3 separate regions of the Homo sapiens genome follow, and all the other regions are linked to region 3. Evidence: promoter capture Hi-C in 16 types of primary human blood cells and fetal thymus (Javierre and others, 2016). All regions are on one chromosome and are shown on one strand. Each heading gives the region's core, a stretch centred on a gene start or on the middle of the fragment in contact. The rest is flanking DNA. Distances are from core to core; before and after follow the strand shown.

Region 1 (3,747 bases), core at 1,157-3,656, 200 kb after region 3:
ACTGTTGTTGTGCTTCCAAGTGGAAGATCTAGACTTGCAAGTACACTGGTTTTTCCATTAAATATTTTAGTAACCAACCTTTAAGGCCTAGTGTTTGGTCTTACTTTAACAGCAGTTGTATATTCTATTCCTAGTGCCTCAAAGATGAAAAATATATTTCCTGCCCTCTGGGAACCTCAAAGTAAGGGACATAAGCTTATGAACAGATTATTGAAATCTGATCTGTTACACAGGATGATGTCCAAAGTGTGCTAAAACAAAATGAGGAAACATCAGTGGACTAGAGTCTTTAGGGAAAGCTCTATAGAAGAAGTGACAGGGCCAGGTGTGGTGGCTCACGCCTGTAATCCCAACACATTGGGAGGCCGAGGCGGGTGGATCACCTGAAGTCAGGAGTTTAAGACCAGCCTGGCCAATATGGTGAAACCGCGTCTCTACTAAAAATACAAAAATTAGCTGGGCGTGGTGGCGGGCATCTGTAATCCCAGCTACTCGGGAGGCTGAGGCAGGAAGAATCGCTTGAACTCTGGAGGTGGAGGTTGCAGTGAGCTGAGATCGCGCCATTGCACTCCAGCCTGGGCAACAGAGCGAGACTTTGTCTCAAAAAAAAAAAAAAAAAAAAAAAGAAGAAGAAGTGACATTTGAGATGGACTTAGAAAATGAATAAGTGAAACTTATAGGTGGTCTTCCAGTTAGATGATTGTTTTCTCAACAGGTCCTTTGGTAAGTGGCTAGGTTGTATTCTAGTTATTTTTTAGTTAATCTTGGGAGTCATTTTGGATGTTTAATTTTCATAGGTATAGGGATAAAACAGGCAGAGCAGATCATTTTTCCGAAATGTTTGGATTTTTATCTTTATTGCCAGCTACACTCACATCTGGTTAATGGAAACAACTCTTAGAAGAGCAGGAGGGTGTACTTTCAGCTTTTTTCCTGCGATATGACTAACTGGTGTAGAGAATTTGAAATACACTTTAATATTTATTTTCTTTGCCTTTCAAAGAAGATGCTATAAATAACAGTAAACAGTTGAAATTTGTATTACTTCAATCAGGATGTTAATAATTTATTCTCATCTATTTCGTATTTGTTAAGGAGGACAGTCTTGTACACATTATTCAGAAAAGTGGAAGGAACTTCTTTTAAAAATTAGAAATGAGAGTTGTGAAATGGAAATAATTTTTTCCAAAAGATGCTGTTAAGTTAGTGAATCTGAAGTTGGAGAAATTGGGCAGGTCATTGATACTGTTACCAACAGTTTTTCCATCTGTAAAATAGGGATAATCATATTTGATTATGACATATTCCCCTTGAAAGGTATTTTGCATTTCTTAGAGGAAAAGTGCAATATTTGTCATTGTTGTGATAGTGTAGAGATGAAACAAATATATCTTCAACTTATATATAATTTAGGTAGTAGAGTGTTTTTATGTACTGTAAAGTTTGTCTCATGCATTTAGCTCAGGATGTAAATTGAGAGAGAATCAGAAGAATGCTGAGGATTTAGTAATTTTCTCTCTTTAAAAATTATCTTATGTTGAATTTACTGGCAGAGAAACAGGAGTCCAGTGAATATAAAATTCTATTTATATTGCTGTAACTTCTGATTAATTTTCTTAGCCTTCATAGATACTGTGAGTATGTTTTCATGGCCTCCTTTTTTTAACTTATTTTACATGTGCGTGCATTTGGATATTGAGGAGGTGCACATTCTTATTGCTTTTTATAGCCGATACTATTTCATTCTGTTCCTGTACAATCTGTGGTTTGCCTGACCATTCTTACTTGTAGGGCCTTTAGATTGGGCCCAATTTTTCTCTATTATGAATAGCTTTGCTACAGTGTATTTAGCAGTAATTATTTGCATATCCCCAAATATAAAATTCTAGGTAAAGACAAGAAGAAGTTTTTAGTTCTGTTTAGTATTGCCAGATTTCTTTCAACAATGATAGGTTTGATTTCCTTTAACTAAATAATACCTTGTGTTGCCACATCATTTTAATTTTTATTTATCAATTTAATAGTGATGTGATGGTCCCTAAGACTTTTTTTTTTTTTTTTTGAGACGGAGTTTTGCTCTTATCACCCAGGCCGGAGTGCAGTGGCACGATCTTGGCTCACTGTAACCTCCACCTCCTGAGTTTAAGCAATTATCCTGCCTCAGCCCCCTGAGTAGCTGGGATTACAGGCGCCTGCCACCATGCCCGGCTAATTTTTGTATTTTTAGTAGAGATGGGGTTTCACCACGTTGGCCAGGCTTGTCTCGAACTCCTGAGCTCTCAGGTGATTCACCCACTTCAGCCTCCCAAAGTGTTGGGATTGTAGGCGTGAGCCACCACGCCCAGCCTGTACACTTTTTAAATGTTTTACTTTCATTGCTATTGAAATTTCTGTGTCTTTTAATATTTTTCTTTTATTTGCCTTATTTTGTTACGTTTTGAAACCATAGTAATAAAAGATTGAGCTATGGTATTCCTTTCCTGTAGAATTCACTTTACTTTCTTAAAATCAAGGGACACTGTGTGACTGAAATAAGTAGAATAAAGCCCTGATTATAAGTGACTAGATATTCCAGGATAAAATCCACAGTTCTAATTTAGTTTGTAAAAGTTTTGACTATTTCAGTTAGCTTTGTGCTTTTTAGCTTTAAATCAAATCTTAGTGTGCCGAGTGGCATTCTGATGGCTAAGAGGTGAAGATTAGTGAGCAGTTCACCTTTGCTGCTTTCAACTTTCAAGTAATTACTGGGTTGTCAACCAGAATTCAGAACTAAGAACTAAAAATAGTATTAATTCTCCAAAATGTCTGCCACTTTTTTACTGTTTGATGGATAGATCACGTTCTTAGATGAAAGATTAAGATTTTTTTTCCTTTGCTGTAAGGAAAAATGACCAATTATACCCCCTAGTGGTTAAAAACAATGTTTAAATGAATTAGTTTAACAACTTTTTAATAAAAAGGAAAATTACTCAGTCATACTTTCCTTTCTTGGTAGTTATTTTTAGAAGCATTTTATAAGTTGTGTTTGTTATTCTGGGAGCAGTTGTGTATAAATATTGGAATGAGTCAGCTTTAAGAAAATAGTCCTGAATGTTGATCTGAACGGACACAGAATGAATATATATGTACCTGTTTTAATTTGACCATAGAAGTAGTTTGAAGATTTTGAAATACTTAAAGAAAAAAAATCTGTATGTGTATTTATTGGTATAGTGATAAATATTTATCGATATGTAGTTTCACATTCTCACAGTTCTCTCTGGAATAAGAGCATTGATTCTTAGCTTCTGGGAACTCATTAGTGTTTGGGTGTTGCTCTTTCAAATCTGAAATCTGGCACTGGAAGGACTTACTTTGACTATGGTAAATATACATTCCAGCAATTGTTTCTTCTTCTTCTGAAAAGGTATGTTAAACTGAGATAGTTTGCCTTTCAGAAATTAGATTTTTAAGTAAAATTAAGACTGTAATTGTTCATTATAGTGAATCTGAGAGTTAGAATCAAGAAAGCAACAAAAGTCTATGAATAAAATTGTGTCTTTCTGCCTGTGGCCCCTCACCAAAGTGGGTGTAAACTTGAACTTCCAAAGGTGTAAACTGGAACGTCTGAAACAAATCACAGATATATGTTCCACACCTCACACCCCCAACACAAACACACAGACACACATCGGCACTACAGAGATTGGTCTGTGCACTGTCAGCCTTAGAGCCCAGCTGCCCAAACCCTTACTTCCCTATTCTCTC
Region 2 (3,541 bases), core at 164-2,663, 130 kb before region 3:
AAAGTCATTCTCCATCTGGCTTTGTTCCATTGCTAGCGAGGATCTGCAATCCTTTGGAGGAGAAGAGGCACTCCGATTTTTAGAATTTTCAGCTTTTCTGCTCTGGTTTCTCCCTATCTTTGTGGTTTTATCTACCTTTGGTCTTTGGTGTTGGTGACCTACACATGGGGTTTTGGTGTGGATGTCTTTTTTGTTAATGTTGATGCTATTGCTTTCTGTTTGTTAGTTTTTCTTCTAACAGTCAGGTCCCTCAGCTACAGGTCTATTGGAGTTTGCTGGAGGTCCACTCCAGACCCTGTTTGCCTGGGTATCACCAGTGGAGGCTGCAGAACAGCAAATATTTCAGAACAGCAAATATTGCTGCCTGATCCTTCTTCTGGAAGCTTCGTCCCAGAGGGGCACCCACCTGTCGGCTCCTACTGGGAGGTGTCTCCGAGTCAGGATACACGGGGGTCAGGGACCCACTTGAGGAGGCAGTCTGTCCGTTCTCAAACGCTGTGTTGGGGAGAACCACTGCTCTCTTCAGAGCTGTCAGACAGGGATGTTTAAGTCTACAGAAGTTGTCTACTGCCTTTTGTTCAGCTAAGCCCTGACCACAGAGGTGGAGTCTAGAGGCAGTAGGCCTTATTGAGCTGTGGTGGGCTGCACCCAGTTTGAGCTTCCCGGTCGCTTTGTTTACCTACTCAAGCCTCAGCAATGGCAGACGCCCTCCCCGAGCCAGGCTGCAACCTCGCTGTTCAATCTCAGACTGCCGCTCTAGCAGTGAGCAAGGCTCCATGGACGTGGGACCCGCCCAGCCAGGCACGGGAGAGAATCTCCTTGTCTGCCGGTTGCTAAGACCTTGGGAAATGCACAGTATTTGGGTGGGAGTGTCTCGTTTTTCCAGGTACAGTCTGTCACAGCTTCCCTTGGCTAGGAAAGGGAAATTCCCCGACCGCTTGCGCTTCCTGGGTGAGGCGACACACCGCCCTGCTTCAGCTCGCCCTCCGTGGGCTGTACCCACTGTCCAACCAGTCCCAGTGAGATGAACCAGGTACCTCAGTTGGAAATGCAGAAATCACCCATCTTCTGCGTCAATCACACTGGGAGCTCCAGACCGGAGCTGTTCCTATTTGGCCATCTTGGAAAGGATCTCAGGAATAATCCATTTTTTAATGGCTTGTGGGAACTTTTAAACCCTGATATAATCTGTGTAGCTGTCTCACTAGCCATCAAAAATCTGTCTTTTCTTTTTCGTGGGGACTTGGAGGTGATCAGCTGCTTCAAGATGAAGCTGATCTTCCCAGCCACAGGCTGCCAGGAGCTCATTGAAGTGGATGATGAACACGAACTTTGGACCAATTTTGAGAAGTGTATTCTGATGCTCTGGGTGAAAAGAACAGAAGGGTTATGTGGTCCAAGACAGTGAGGGGAACAACAAGCAAGTCTCCCCCAAGAAGCAAGATGTCCTGACCATGGCCGTGCCCATGTGCCATTGCGTAAGGGGCATTCTTGTTAGAGACCAAGGAGAACTGGAGAAAGGAGGCACAAGTCTGCTGGGTGTGGTGGCTCTTGCCTGTGATCCCAGCTACTAGGGAAACTGAGGTAAGAGGATTGCTTGAACCCAGGAGTTCAAGGCTGCAATGAGCTGTGATCACACTACTGCACTCTATCTTGGGTGACAGAGTGAGACCTTTTATCTTAAAAAAATTTTTAAAGAAAATTCAAGTCTGTTCTGGATTGCACTACGGATGCCAATCTGAGTGTTCTCAATTTAACTATCAGCTAAAAAGGAAAGAAGAATATTCCTGGACTGACTGATGCTACTGGGCCTCTATCCTGGGGCTCAGAACAGATAGCAGAATCCACAAACATTTCCATCTTCCTTAAGAAGATCATGAACACCAGTGTTTTGTGAGAAAGCCCCTAAACAAAGAAAGTAAGAGACCTGGGAGTAAAGCACCCAAGATTCAGTCTTGTTATTCCATGTGTCCAGCAACACAAATGTACGTCTATTGCTCTGAAAAAACAGCATATTTAGGAAAATAAGAGGTTGCAGAGCAGAACATGCTGAACTTTTGGTCAAGAGAATGCAGGAGGTCAAACAAATTGCCAAGAACAGATAGCCAAGAGACAGAGCTGTCCTCTTTGATAAATTCTACCTCCAAGTTTAAGTCTTGTCAAAACAAACAAACAAAAAAGAGATTTTTCTAAGAATAACAAACAATAAAATCACACATCAAGAAACAAAACAAACCCCAGCCTGCCTTATTCTTCAGGGCAAAGACTCCCAATTGCCTACCTAATATCCATTCTCTCCTTCTTCCTTTCTAAAAGAACCATGTTTTTGCTCAGGATCGCAAGGCTCCTGACAACTGCATTTCCCAATCGTGCATGTTGGGTTCAGCATGTGACTCAGTTCCAACCAATGAGGTGTGAGTAGAATCATTGGGTGCCACCCCAGGAAAGCTTCTTAAAAGGAGATCAGGGCAGTTGGCATGCCCCTTTCCTCCTCCCTGCCTGGAAGGGGTCCCAATGTCTGGGGGGCAGAAGCCATCTTGGATTCATGAGACCCAAGGCCACACCCCAGTGATGGCAGAGTGAAAGAGAGCAAGATCCTGAATTAGGTGGAGCTGTTGCATCAGCTCTGGGCTGCCTGCCTCCTGACTTGTATTTGGATGGACTATTGTGAGTTGAATTTTCTGTTAAGTGCACCTATTGCCAACCCACAAACCTGCCCTTTGGTTTTCATTATCTCTGCATGTCCCAATCATATCAATGGCTCCCATTGTGTGTTCATTGTATAGCAGGGGACTCAGCGCACCACACAACGTAATATATTGTTAAGACGCATTTATTGACTGTGTGATTCCCAGGTCAGGTTTTATGTTCCTCCTGATATGAGGCAGTGAGAAGTACAAACCATCACCTACAAAGTATATTTGATCTGAATCCAAACATGAAGCAACTATTATACGAATTCAGCATGGAGCGGGGGACAATCTAGTAAACTCACCTGAACCCCAAAAGTTCCATGTGACCAAAAAAACCCAAGAAGGTAGTAGTAAGGGGGTACTATTCTAGATTAAAAGAGGCTAAAGAAAAATAATTAATGAGTAATTAATACCTGGGTGACAAAAGAATCTGTACAACAAAATCCCATGACACAAGTTTACCTATACAATAAACCTACAGGCTGGGTGCAGTGGCTCACGCCTGTAATCCCAGCACTTTGGGAGCCCAAGGCAGATGGATAACGAGGTCAGGAGATCGAGACCATCCTGGCTAACATGGTGAAATCATGTCTCTATTAAAAATACGAAAAATTAGCTGGGCATGGTGGCACGTGCCTGTAAGTCCCAGCTACTCAGGAGGCTGAGGCAGGAGAATCACTTGAACCTGGGAGGTGGAGGTTGCAGTGAGCTGAGATCACACCACTGCACTGCAGCCTGGGCGACAGAGCCCGAATCTCTCTCAAAAAAAATTAAAACATAAAAAATAAAAAATAAACCTACACATGTAACCCTGAGAGACTGGAGGATCACCTGAGGGCAGGAGTTCA
Region 3 (3,869 bases), core at 316-2,815:
CAGTCCTACCAGTAAGCACAGTTAGATGTGTGATCATCCATAGACTCAGGGCCATTTATTTATTTATTTATTTATCTATCGAGACAGAGTCTCGCATGGTCGCCCAGGCTAGAGTGCAGTGGCGCAATCTCGGCTCACTGCAACCTCCGCCTCCCAGGTTCAAGGGATTCTCCTGCCTCACCCTCTTGAGTAGCTGGGATTATAGGTGAGTGCCACCGTGCCTGGCTAACTTTTATATTTTTAGTAGAGATGGGGTTTCACCATGTTGGCCAGGCTGGTCTCGAACTCCTGATCTCAGGTGATCCGCCTGCCTCGGCCTCCCAAAGTGCTGGGATTACAGGAGTGAGCCACCACACCCAGCCTGATTCAGGGTCTTTATGTAAAATATCCATAACATATCTGTTGGATTCACCCTCTGGTACGTCAGTGGCCAGAGAGATGGGAGAAGAATGATGGGAGACAGTTTTTTAGCACTTATAATGAGAGGCAATGTTGTAAGGACTTGGCAGTAGTAATACTCCCCATTTTACAGGTAAAGCAGCTGAAGCCAGATATTAGGTAACTTGTGTGTGGGGGGGCCACACAGCTTGTAAATTTCATTTGATCCTGATTTCAGAGCCCTTGCTCTTATTACACTATATTGTACTCAGAGTGACACCAAAAAAACAAAATACCACGCCCCCCTCCCCCAACACACACACAAACACACATATATAAAACCCTCACTGCCCTTTAAAGGAAGTCTCTTCACAGCTTCTATTTTGCCAAGTTTCTGTTACCACCATTCCCAACCTGGACATAAATGTTGCCAAAGCACTGCATAGAATTCATTGTGATTTTTTCCCCTCAGGCACATAGAAAAGATACGTTTAGTCTAAGTAAACACAAGTATAAACCACACAACAGACTTTTTTTTCACTTATCTAATTAGTAGTATTTAGCATTTAAAAAGCAAAGATTGGTACTCTTTGCTGGCGGGAGGGTAAATTGGTAAAATGTTTTTGTAGACCAAAAAGTACCGTTTTATATCTAAAGCTTTAGAAAATATACCCTTTGCCCTAGGAATTCTACCCCTGAGATTCTATCCTGAGAAATAATCTTATATTTCTAATAATTCCTATAGCATAGGAATATTCTATATTAAAATAACTTTGTTCCTTTTCCTTCATACTAAGTTATCCTGAAATATTGGCATTATTTGCATAGTTTTGCTTGATACTGTCTTTTGTCATTGTGAGTTTATACAGTAGTACATGAAGTGAGCCCTATTTTTTGACAAAGATATTTCTGGTGGACCCATCGCTTTCAGTCAACTTTATAAGAACTAACTAGACCTACCAGTCAGCAGAGAGAGTAAACTTACATTATTAATATAATTTTTGTTAGAAGTGATGGTAGCTTGTTCTTAAATAGATTGTTTTCCTTTTTACCTTTTACCTTAAAACTTAGGCTTTTAAAGTTTTTCTTTAAAAAGTTTGTTGAAAAAGCAAAAGATCTTGTACTTACATATCAGTGACTCGTTCGGGTCTCTGTGTAGTAGCTGTGAGTAGTTGTCCAAACTGAAGTAAGTTTTAACTGTGGCATGTTGTTTTAAGAGAGGCTGTGCAGACCTCCTTTTATGGTGGTGACTTTTTTTTTCTCTGTCACCCTGTGACTGAGCATGTAATGAGCAGTTAGCCTCGTGTACGTGTGTGCACTTTGTGTTTTTTTTTGTTTTAAATGGGAAGTGAAATTTTTTATAGTGATTAAAAAAAACTATCCAAAAGCCCCTTGGAATTTATGAATTGTTGATATCTGTGGAACTTTATAAATTTTTCTGTAAAGGTTTAAGTATCAAAAAATTCTTTGAAAGAGACTGAAGCAATAAACCTTAACCAAAAAAAAGACCAAGTTACTGATGATTTTATATTGATTTTGCATGTAAAAGTATGGGTTTTTAAATGTTTTAAGGAAAATAGTGTCAACTTTGACAGTGCTTTTTACCTGGAAACTTGGTATCAGGGAGTAGTTTACACATTCCACCTTATCCACAGCTTATGAGAAAGAAACAGGTTTCTGTGGCGTGGGGGTGAGTGACAGTCCAGGATGTGGAGTGGACTGGATTAGTCGCCGTTTTCAGTCGAGAGGCTGCCTGAGTCAGAGGCTGTGTGAGTACTTGAATAACAGGGAAACAGTTGAAGGGAGGCCCATTATAGATAAAATCCAGCCTCTTCAGCACAGGGTGAAAGAGACTCATGCCATTCACCTCATAGTTGTAGTTGACTCAGTTTAAACCAACTAACGTGTCTGTCAGAATGCAGTTTATTTGTAGGCTAAATTACCAGATATGTAGCACTCAGATCAGGAGAGGTGATGTTTACACTTAGTCAGGACTGATCTGGCCATTCCCAGCCACTTCTGGGTGCTGCTTTTTACGAAGACATAGATAACACCTGTGGCAGTGAGGGGCCTGGATAGCAGGTCTTAGGAGAACTGATTAAATAAGCTGGGGATGTGTATGCTTTGTAGGCATAGGGTCATTATCCTTATGCTTGTGGAAACTCTCATAGAAAAGTGTTTACATTGCTTGTGTCAGTCTTCCTAACTCCAGAGACTAGCGGGAGGGTCAGTAAGAAGTTACTGGACATAGCTTTTGGATCAAAAGATGAGAGTCATTCCCAAAAGTTGTGATTATTTTGAAAAATGGAATATGCTGTTTCTTATTTAGATGCTTGAGTAAACTTGATGATTTTGAGGGATGATGTAAACAGAATTGAATCATTTGGTAGGAATTTGTAACTCTGTGATCTCAGAAGCCTTTCTGCTCCAGGATTCTGTAAAAATAGTCGAGTAGCTTTTGCCTCCCACAGATGTCATTAGGTTCTTCTAACGTCTAAAGTGCTGTGAGTATGGAGGAACATTGTCAGACACAAGAAAGAGCATCAAGCAAGTCAGCTGAATTCTTTGGGCCGCCACCTCACTGTGTATAAAATAAAGGTATTGAACTAAATGATCTCCAAGGTAATTCCTAGTACAAAAATTCTATGAGGGGGTAATACAGAGATTTTATGACTTGGTGGATAAACATGACATCATATTCTAGAACTAGTTCATTTAAAACTTAGGCTGCAGAGTACTTGAAGAAGACACTGTTGATAAATTTTTCAGTTTGTTGAAAGACCATTCTGGTGGGGTTTTGCCTGTTAATTTTGAAATAGTTATATTAAGTAAAACATTTTTATATAGTGAAGGACTCAGCTAGTTCAAGTAATTCCTCTGACAAACTGGATCTGTCCTCCCAACCTTCTTTTTTTTTTTTGAGACAGAGTCTCGCTCTCACCAGGCTGGAGTGCAGGGGTGTGCTGTCGGCTCACTGCAACCTCCACCTCCCGGCTTCAAGCAATTCTCCTGCCTCAGCCTCCCGAGTAGCTGGGACTACAGGCATATGCCACCATGCCCAGCTAATTTTTGTATTTTTAGTAGAGACAAGGTTTCACCATGTTGGCCAGGATGGTCTCAATCTCTTGACCTCATGATCTGCCTGCATTGGCCTCCCAAAGTGCTGGGATTACAGGTGTGAGCCACCGTGCCCAGCCCCTTTTTTTTGATATCAGAGTAGTCAGGCAGATGAAGAAGAGGTGATGGGGTCATTATCCTGTAAGAGGCCGCTGAAGCTGTATATTAGATCATTTCATGAGCTCACAAACCTTGTTTTTATTGCTGTTGAAAGTTACCAGGGTTTCTTGAGTTGTGATTGTACTGTAAAAGTAGAGTTGGCCTTTACAGTTTTTTTGTTTGTTTGTTTGGAGACAGGGTCTCACTCTGTTGCCCAGGCTGGAGTGCAGTGGCACGATCTTGGCTCACTGCAACCTCTGCCTCCTGGGCTCAAG

What was found. The method cuts DNA at HindIII sites, captures the fragments that hold promoters and counts their contacts. A CHiCAGO score of 5 or more calls a contact.
Region 1: a fragment that was not itself captured here is called in contact with the fragment with the promoter of GPR183 in region 3 in 1 of 17 cell types (total CD4 T cells); the score reaches 5.3 in total CD4 T cells.
Region 2: a fragment that was not itself captured here is called in contact with the fragment with the promoter of GPR183 in region 3 in 2 of 17 cell types (monocytes and non-activated CD4 T cells); the score reaches 5.9 in monocytes.

Annotation. Positions count from the first base shown.
Region 1 is chr13:99,503,108-99,506,854 of GRCh38, forward strand. All of the region lies in intron 1 of TM9SF2 (transmembrane 9 superfamily member 2), which reads left to right. Among named protein-coding and RNA genes, the nearest start is that of TM9SF2, 3.5 kb to the left of the region's middle. The HindIII fragment of the contact is 4,426 bases long and covers 194-3,747 here.
Region 2 is chr13:99,172,327-99,175,867 of GRCh38, forward strand. It overlaps the pseudogene RPS6P23. Among named protein-coding and RNA genes, the nearest start is that of UBAC2-AS1, 27 kb to the right of the region's middle. RefSeq lists an enhancer at 339-840. The HindIII fragment of the contact is 2,065 bases long and covers 382-2,446 here.
Region 3 is chr13:99,305,834-99,309,702 of GRCh38, forward strand. GPR183 (G protein-coupled receptor 183) reads right to left here and starts at 1,566. Exons shown (of 2, transcript NM_004951.5): 1 at 1,507-1,566. All of the region lies in intron 4 of UBAC2 (UBA domain containing 2), which reads left to right. The HindIII fragment of the contact is 4,315 bases long and covers 1,034-3,869 here.